3 separate regions of the Homo sapiens genome follow, and regions 1 and 2 are each linked to region 3. Evidence: promoter capture Hi-C in 16 types of primary human blood cells and fetal thymus (Javierre and others, 2016). All regions are on one chromosome and are shown on one strand. Each heading gives the region's core, a stretch centred on a gene start or on the middle of the fragment in contact. The rest is flanking DNA. Distances are from core to core; before and after follow the strand shown. Region 1 overlaps ELOVL4 (ELOVL fatty acid elongase 4). Region 2 overlaps ELOVL4 (ELOVL fatty acid elongase 4). Region 3 holds the start of BCKDHB (branched chain keto acid dehydrogenase E1 subunit beta).

Evidence for each region. The method cuts DNA at HindIII sites, captures the fragments that hold promoters and counts their contacts. A CHiCAGO score of 5 or more calls a contact.
Region 1: a fragment that was not itself captured here is called in contact with the fragment with the promoter of BCKDHB in region 3 in 1 of 17 cell types (fetal thymus); the score reaches 6.9 in fetal thymus.
Region 2: a contact is called between a fragment that was not itself captured here and the fragment with the promoter of BCKDHB in region 3, in 1 of 17 cell types (fetal thymus). The highest score is 7.3, in fetal thymus.

What each region holds. Positions count from the first base shown.
Region 1 is chr6:79,916,842-79,919,886 of GRCh38, forward strand. ELOVL4 (ELOVL fatty acid elongase 4) reads right to left here. Exons shown (of 6, transcript NM_022726.4): 5 at 2,579-2,706; 6 at 1-42. Among named protein-coding and RNA genes, the nearest start is that of ELOVL4, 29 kb to the right of the region's middle. The HindIII fragment of the contact is 186 bases long and covers 1,655-1,840 here.
Region 2 is chr6:79,937,457-79,940,537 of GRCh38, forward strand. All of the region lies in intron 1 of ELOVL4 (ELOVL fatty acid elongase 4), which reads right to left. Among named protein-coding and RNA genes, the nearest start is that of ELOVL4, 8.6 kb to the right of the region's middle. The HindIII fragment of the contact is 1,847 bases long and covers 846-2,692 here.
Region 3 is chr6:80,105,355-80,108,353 of GRCh38, forward strand. BCKDHB (branched chain keto acid dehydrogenase E1 subunit beta) reads left to right here and starts at 1,317. Exons shown (of 10, transcript NM_183050.4): 1 at 1,317-1,535. The coding sequence starts at 1,340. RefSeq lists enhancers at 1,113-1,613, 1,580-1,659 and silencers at 1,200-1,399, 1,430-1,529. The HindIII fragment of the contact is 20,612 bases long and covers 834-2,999 here.

The DNA.
Region 1 (3,045 bases), core at 498-2,997, 190 kb before region 3:
AAGAGACAGTGCCGTGTGCCCAATGGTCACATGGAATTGAATCTGAAAAACAGAAATGACAGCACAAAACATTTAATCTGAATAGTAAACAACTTTTAACAACATCGGCATCTTCTACATAGCTATCACAGGCCCAAATTTTGCCACACTGTGCAAAATTTATTGTTTTCTGGCTCCCATGGCTAGCTCCTCATTCACAACTCAAATGCCATCTCCTCAGTAAGGACTCTCTGACAAGACTTCAATTTCAATTGGCCCTCCCAATCCCATTAACCAAAGAGCTTTCTGCATTTTTTTTAAGGAGAATTATACCTATTTGAAATTGTCTTCTGTATTTGTTATTTCTTTATTGCCTATCTTTCCACTAGAAAATGACTCTAGAAGGCAGGGCTTTGTCTTGCCCATCGGTGATTCTTGAGTCCTCAGCACAGCATCAGGATCAATGAATATGTGTTGAATAATGTTATCTGATGAAAGGGAATCAATGGCCTAGGAGAGTAAAGTAATAGTATTGTAGGCTCTTCAATTTTGTTTTCCTCCCACATTTTACATTGGTTTCTTTCTATCAAATTGTCAGCAAGCAGATACACATACTTAAAATGAGCTTATCAAAATGGCTCATTTATTTCTTACAGATAGTAGGCAGGTAAATTTTTATTTGAACGAACACTATCCTTTAAAAACTAATATTTTGATGGCCAGGTGCGATGGCTCATGCCTGCAATCCCAGCACTCTGGGAGGCCGAGGCGGGTGGATCAACTGAGGTCAGGAGTTCAAGACCAGCCTGGCCAACATGGTAAAACCCCATTTCTACTAAAAATACAAAAAATTAGCCAGGTGTGGTGGTCCATGACTGTAATCCCAGCTACTCAGGAGGCTGAAGCAGAAGAATAGCTTGAACCCAGGAGGCGGAAGTTACAGTGAGCCCAGACTGCACCATTGCACTCCAACTTGGGCAACAAGAGCAAAACTCCGTCCCAAAAAAAGAAAAAAATAATATTTGGATAAAATTTAGTAGATATTTCAGAATAAATACAAAAAGAATCACTTTCAACTTTAAGAATTTTTAAAAGGAAAAAAGCCCAAAGTGAGATGATTAAAATGAAATAGATTCTGATGTATCAATAAAAGAATGGGTCAAGACATAATGTTAACAAGGGTTAACTTTTTATACAATTAACTTATATGACTAACTGTTGTGGGAACTTCTGGCTTGGAAATACAAACTCAACATCCTGTTTGAAATGGACAATTGTGGTTTCTCTTTTAAGGATAGCATTGTTCTTAAAATATTAATTATTGATTAAAATAATCAGTATTACTTATTTTAAATATTAAAATAATGTATGCCATGTAAGCTAAAAATTTATACTATATTAAACTTTTATAATTTTCCTTGGCAAATATTTTAATTTGAAGAACTTGTGGTTTCACAATGGTTTTTAGAAGCTGCATCACCAAAAAGGGTGTGTATAAGGGTGTGATTGGGTATGGCATCACTCAAGGAGAGCCAGGTGTAGGCTCCAACAAACCAGATAGGACTAATTCACATGATTTTGATCACCTCTTCATTTTCTTAGGTCCATTTACTACTTACTGAGAGAAATGAATTACACAAACTGTGTTAACAGCTTTTACACAAAAACTGGAGGAAGCTTCCTATACCACTCCGGTTACAAATGAATCCTTCGCACCCAGCATTTCCCAAAAGTTGTGCTTCCTGTTTGGTTAGCCAGCTGTTTAGCAACTTAAAGCAAAGATGAATATTATTTCCAAATGTGATTCCACTGATAAAATTGTGCACATGCTATGATTAAAGCAAATTATAATAAATTCTAAAGCTTGAAAAATAGTTACCAGGTTGGCTTTGAATTTCCAGTTTGATTACAGGCTAGTGCCTAGCATCTGAAAGGTACACTAATGCACACACTCAGATTGCCACAAACAGTCTTACTAGCGGGATGTGCTGAAAACTGTCTGGACTAAAGACCACCATTTGAAAATATCTGTCTCTGCTCTCTTAAGGACAGTGTTTTAGAGAATTACAAGGAGTTCTCTTGCCCTTATTCCCTTCCTTTGCCCCACCCCTTCCTTGGCTATGTGCTTTCTTTTCAGCTGTTTAGTCTAAATATATGAGATATGTTAAAGACTGAAAAATGAAATAAAAAACAAAATTTTTAAGCAAGGACAAGATGAAGAAAGGTAATAAAATTTTAAGTTAAGAAAATCACCTGTAGGGAAAAAATACATATTATTTTTCTATTCATACTACGTACTTTGTAGCGTGCTTAGATCTTTAATCATCCTTTCCACAAACATCTTTAGAGAATGTTTTCCTTAGAGGAGTAAGGGCTATGTCTAGTCTTTTAAGCATATTATAAAAACAAAGATTTGCTGGGACCAATAAGTCTATGAATAGGTCATCTAGAGTCAAGTGGGCATAACTGCGATATAGCTGGAGGATAAAGTTAATTTCATAATAGAAAATTGTCTAAAATGACATTGCACTTTAAAATTAATCAAATTTAAACAATTTCAGTATTTTACCAGAAGAAACTTTGGAAGCATTTAACTCACCAGTTGCAACATAGTCAGGTATCGTTTCCACCAAAGATATTTCTGAATCCATGGGCCAAATGCAGTTAACCCATAGTATGAGTACATAATCACATGGATAAAGGAATTCAACTGGGCTCCAAAAAATGCTTTAGAAAAACAACAGGTAATTACAAGATACAGAAAATTTTATTAGGCAGTAAGCCACTGAGATGTACAATAAATGAATACACATTATTTTTTAATATTTAATCTTGAGTACAGATTAGAAATGAAAAATATAAAGTAGTACTAATGAAAAAGTTTTCCCTTCAGATTAAGCTAGATATTTTTAAAGTTTAGATTTGAGGTTTTACCATATAAATAAAAATGTATGTTCAAATGCAAAGGACTTTCACAGTTGTAGGTTTTCAAATGGAGTACTCCAGTGAGCTTAAATAGGCCCTTAGAACTGTTGCCTATGTTACTTTTAATTCTACTATTCTTGC
Region 2 (3,081 bases), core at 519-3,018, 170 kb before region 3:
CCTGGGATTTAATTTGACAGGGTTAGTATTAGATGAATCAGGTTCAGGGAAAGTCAGTTTACTCACCTGGAAAATGGGGATAATAACGGTACCGAGCCCAATGGAATATGAGGACTAAATGTGATAATACATATAAAACACTGGACACAGTGCCTGACACTTAGTAAGCATCCAATAAATGTTCACTATTATTACTGGGCAATAAAATGGTATTTATTGAATAAATAAGTAGGCTATGTTGCATTATAAAAAGGTCACTGTTGGGAAGGAGAAAGATCTTGATCCTATTCCAACTCTGTTACTTTCTAGCTATGTAGCTTTGAGTCTATTTCTTCATCTATAGATGGTTAAATAATATCTAACTTATAGAGATGATCTGAAAATTAAATATAAGGTGTATCAAATACAGTACTACAGCATCTTAAAATGGTCCTATACTAAATGCTCAATAAATGGTAGTGAGTTTCATCATGTGCAGACGATATCTGGTTTCAAATTCCTGACCTCAATGATCCACCCGCCTCGGCCTCCCAAAGTGCTGGGATTACAGGCGTGAGCCACCATGCCCAAGTGCAGGTGATGTCCAAATTCATGACTTCAGAAAATGGCCTATTCATAAAAGCCAGTTCATAAGGGAAAAGGAGACAATTTCAAGGGAGAAAATATATCTCGAGAGAGAGAGCTGAAGAATGTTGCCTCGTTTCCTGGAAGCCAAGATCAGAATACAAGTAGTTTCCTTCTCTCCTTGTTTCCAATTTTGCTGGGCTTCTCAGAAAAAGTAGTCATAAAACTTAATCTGGGAGTTCCAAGTTCAACCATCCACCCAATGCTGCCAATGAACTCAAAGCTTTAAGAAAATTGAAATGGTGTTTCCCTTTAGCAAAAAAGATGGAAGATACCATTAGAGTGTGTGAGTGTGTGAGTTAATGGGAACTTTAGCCAAAATCTTCCCTTGACTCTAACAGTTCTATAAGTTGAATAGCCACTGGGTAAAATACGGTTAGTCCTGAATGAATTTCATTATCCTTTCACTAACAAGTTTCTAGCTCTTGTATTATGCAATTTGGCAAATACTTTCATAATTCACTTTGAATACACTTTTTTTAAACAATCCTACACCGTCATATGGAAGTTAACCATCTTCTCAGGCTAAATATCGCATTTTGTATTCTACATATATTCACATATTTGTGTATGTATATAGTATATGAATAAATATCACTTTGTAGTTTAATCTCATACACCAGCCTTTATAGCACCTTTGAATATTTAGATGTCTTTCTTTAGATGATCTTTGGTAATATTATGACTTTGTTCAGATTTAGTATTCTAAACAGTGATACTCTGTAGATAACAATAAAAGAAAAGGTAAAATAAAAGAGAAACACAGATTACAGGCCTGATTATTTCTTTCTTGCTTGGCTAGTGTGACGGGAAGACAAGAGCACTGGGCTAGGGACAAAACAACCCATGCACATTCATTTGCACTATAGTGACCACCTACAAAAGTTACGTAACTTCTGTAAATCTCAAAGACTTCTAAATATATGGAAAAAATGCCTTCAAGGCCTATCTCCCAGAGTTATTGTGAAGTTGTTTGTAAAACCATAAAGCAAAATACAAAGCTAAAGTTTTCTTTCTTGTTATTTGCTACTTTCTAGCCACTCGGATTTTTTTTAAGCCAACAGCTATATAGTCTCTTTATAAAGTCATTTTACTTTAAATTGAAAAAATAAAGAAGAATTGACTGTTTTACCATTGAGCACTAAAGAGATCATTTCTACAGGTGCTAATGTATTAATTTTATAATATATGAAATTCTTGCATTGCGGTAAAAAGAAAAGCACATAACATAAAATATACCATCTTAATCATTTTTAAGTGTACAGTCCAGTATCATTAAGCATATCCACATTGTTGTGACTCTCTGGAACTTTTCTATCTTGAAAAACTGAAACTCTATACCTATTAAACAAGTCATCAGTTCTCCTTCTCCCCAGGCCCTAGCAAACATCTTTCTACTTTCTGTTTCTATTAATTTGACTACTTTATTTATTTATTTATTTATTTATTTATTTATTTATTGGGCCAGGATCTTACTCTGTCACCCAGGCTGGAGTGCAGTGGCACAATTATGGTTCACTGAAGCCTTCACCTCCCAGGTTCAAGTGATCCTTCTCCCTCAGCCTTCTCAATAGCTGAGACTAGAGGCATATGGCACCAGGCCTGGCTAATTTTTAATATTTTTTTGTTGCTCATGTTGGTCTTGAACTCCTGGGCTCAAGTGATCCTTGAGCCTCCACCTCCCAAAGTGCTAGCATTATAGGCATGAGCCACTGGGCCCAGCCCGAATTTGACTACAGTAGAGGGTCCATATAAGTGGAACCATAATGCCACATACATAATTATCTTTTTGTGACTAGACTATTTCACTTAGTAACAAGGTTCATCTATGTTGTAGCACATGTCAGAATTTCTTTCCTTTTTAAGACTGAATAATATTCCATTGTATGTATATACCACGTTGCGTTTATCCATTTATCCAACACTGGACATCTGGGTCGTTTCCACCTCTTAACTACTGTGAATAATGCTGCTATGTACGTGTGTGAAAAAATATATAAAATTAGTTAAAAACACACATCTGTGCTCAAGTTTTTGTTTGATAAGTGAATAAAAATGAAAACAGAAAAGCTTGTTTCTTGGAATTCTGCAGTTCAAAATCACAAATGCTTTTATGTGATTATACCTGACAGTGAGTAACTGATTTCCTCAGTGGACTAATGCATTTGTCTTTCAAATTCCAAAAATTTTACTCTAATACAATATAATCATAAATAAAACATCATTCTAAGGTATTTGTTTACAAATGGTAATATTTCATGAAGAAAAATATATGGCAAAAGATTTTAAAAATTTGTATTTTGATTAGTTAAGGAACATACTTATACCAAAACCATTTAGTTTCTTTTGTTTTCTCTTCTGTAAGACCTACACATTTTTATCAATTTTACAAAAATCTTAAGCCATACTTCCAAACTTAAGTAAAAAATGCTCATATATAAAGTGTTTATAATAGAA
Region 3 (2,999 bases), core at 67-2,566:
AGTTTAAACCCAAATTTGACTATGTAAATGTAATTTCATTTTGTTACCCCTTCCTTCATTAAAACAAAAATACCCTTCATGCACATGCAAAACACTCTACCCCACACTATTAAAACAGCAGAAATGAACACTAACAAAAGCCAAGATAAAAAATTTCCCCAATGTTGAATTTTTGGACTTAGTGTGGGGGTAGGAAAAATGGAGACATAATTCTGGTTCTCCCTTTGGCAGTTTTCAATTGCTGTTTCTTAATCTCAGTCAGAAAACACATTTCTCTGCCTCTCCTTTTGCCCCATTTCTACCCTCTCCTCCCTTGCCCCTGTGCAAAACCAAAGATGGGTTAAGAGGCAAGGCATAATGGAAGAGGAATGTTCTTTTCCTCCACTCCCACTTTCTTCTTCAAATTCTGTTTTGGGACCATCCTTCCCCACCCTCCCATTTTCATCTGATGGACACACTGTCTCTGTTGTCTCTTGTCATATTTGATTTTATGATATTTCATGTTTTATGTGCTTTTTTTTTTTTTTAGTAAATTCATGGACAGAGAATGTATCCTGGTAAACACTTAGATTAAAACAAATTTACATAGTTGATTACTATAAATGAAAATTAGTGACTCAAATTCTCCAGGTTTCTAAGCTACTTAGACTAAGCCAATCAGGTAATTTTTGCTACTTCTGGGCAAAATGTATCTGAATTCCTATTCAGTGGATTTGCAGGATGAAATCTAAGTTTACCTCTTTCATCTCTCATTTAAATGTGGAAAAACGAAATCAATAAAAATCTATATATGCTTATTAAGCATTTTAAGGAGGGTGTGAATAAGGAGTGAAAGCTTTGAGCAGTGACTACAGCAGTTTTTCGAAAGTCAAAACAATAACCAATGCCAATCAGTAGCTCTCTTCACCTCTCACACAATAATAGAGACAGGACAGGATAAAAAAGGGTTACATTTAAAAAAAAGTATGGATGTTAAACCATTGGAAATGGCACTGTAAATGACACCGGAAAAGATCGCCTCCAGGCACTGTGTGGAACTTTGCAAACTCGGGTCCTCACCCGAGGACCGCACGGCCGACCTCGGGGAGGCTCCACCCCAGAAACTATTTCATTGGCGCCACCTCTAGCCCACACTTCCCCTCTTCCGCATGCGCACAAGGAGCAGAAGCCGACCAGCTCGTCACGTCGCCTTCCCCGCCCCTAAATTTCCAGTTCCGATTGGTCTGTTTCATGGGACCGCCCCTCTGGCCCGACCAATGTGGAAGCCTCCTCGGGTGCTCCGCCCTCCCCGCAGGCGGCGTGCGGCTGCATAGCCTGAGAATCCCGGTGGTGAGCGGGGATGGCGGTTGTAGCGGCGGCTGCCGGCTGGCTACTCAGGCTCAGGGCGGCAGGGGCTGAGGGGCACTGGCGTCGGCTTCCTGGCGCGGGGCTGGCGCGGGGCTTTTTGCACCCCGCCGCGACTGTCGAGGATGCGGCCCAGAGGCGGCAGGTGGCTCATTTTACTTTCCAGCCAGATCCGGAGCCCCGGGAGTACGGTGAGCCCTGGGACTGCCCACTCGGTCCCGCTGCAGCCCGGACTCCCAGGCTCGCAGGCGCCCGCGAGGGGCAGGGGCCGGCAGGCTGCAATCCTTGCATCCCAGCTTATTAACTTCCTGACTCTCTGGAACCTCCTTGCCTCAGGGTCTAACTGTGGTTCACTTCTTGCTCTATTTTTGTGACTGTTCAGCCCTCGAGACGCAGTCCCCCCTCCCCCGCAACTTTGAGATGGGTGAGAGGGCATACTGCCACCTGGAAGAGCCTGAGGGTGGAGGGGTGGTGCCCAGGGAACGCCTCCCTTTTCTCTGTCCTCCGTCCTTGCTTTCTCAACCCAGGCCTTAGGTGTTGTTCCAGCCTGGCCAGGACTGGGCCACTAGCTTAGGTAGAGGCATTTAAAAGATATATATATATGTTTATATATATATATTTTAAATGTATATTATATATATTATATATAAAATATATATATGTATATAAAATCAATTCAGTTACTCAGTCCCTTGGTTTCTTCTTACATACAGAAATTGTGTGTATGTGTGTGTGTGTGTGTGTGTGTATATATCCACACACATATATATATGTGTGGATATATATACGCGCATATATATGCATATATATGTGCGCATATATATATATATGCATATATATATATGCACACATATATATGCATATATATATGCATATATGTATATATGTCCCTTGGTTTCTTCTTACCTACAGAATTCTGAGTAATTGAACTGATTTTCCCAAGGTCACAGAACAGGTCCTTCCTAGAGATGTGAAAGAATTCAGACTTTCTACTTGAGCTTAGTACTGAGCTTGTCCTGGGCTATGCTGCCACTTAGCCAAGGAGGTGAAGGGGATGAGAGGAGGAAGCCATAGGAAGGGCATGTAGCAAACTCCTCATAGTATGACTGTTGCATGATTTTTACCATTTCTGCAAGTTTCATGTAATGTCTCTCATCAGAATATCAGATCCAGTGTCTCTCTTCAGAATATCAGGAAACTGTAGGGAAACATGTATTGCTTCCTTGTCTAATAACTTCTCATGTGCATGCTAGAGCTGACATTTTTGGAAGTGTGTCTTGTGGATAAGAATGAACAGTTATTGAGTGCTTACCAGGGTCAGGTGCTGTGTGTATGTTTCATCATCTCATTTAAGGGTTAGGACAACCTTAAAAGGTTAGTAAAGTTTTTATTCCCATTTTGCAGTTAGGTTAATGGAGTCTTGAGACAGTTTGACCAAGATTACACAGGTAAGTTAGTGGTAGCTCCAAAGCTCCAGCTTTGGAATCTAATTGATCAGATTCCAGAGCTTCCATTCTAAACAATGTACTAAGATGCGTGTAGATATAATTTACTTGGAGGGCGTCCCAGTATTGTGAAACAGTAGGTACCATAAAGGTTAATAGTAGGTGTTTTTTTTTTTTTTTCCACCACCAAGATGAGCCCTCAATTCTGTC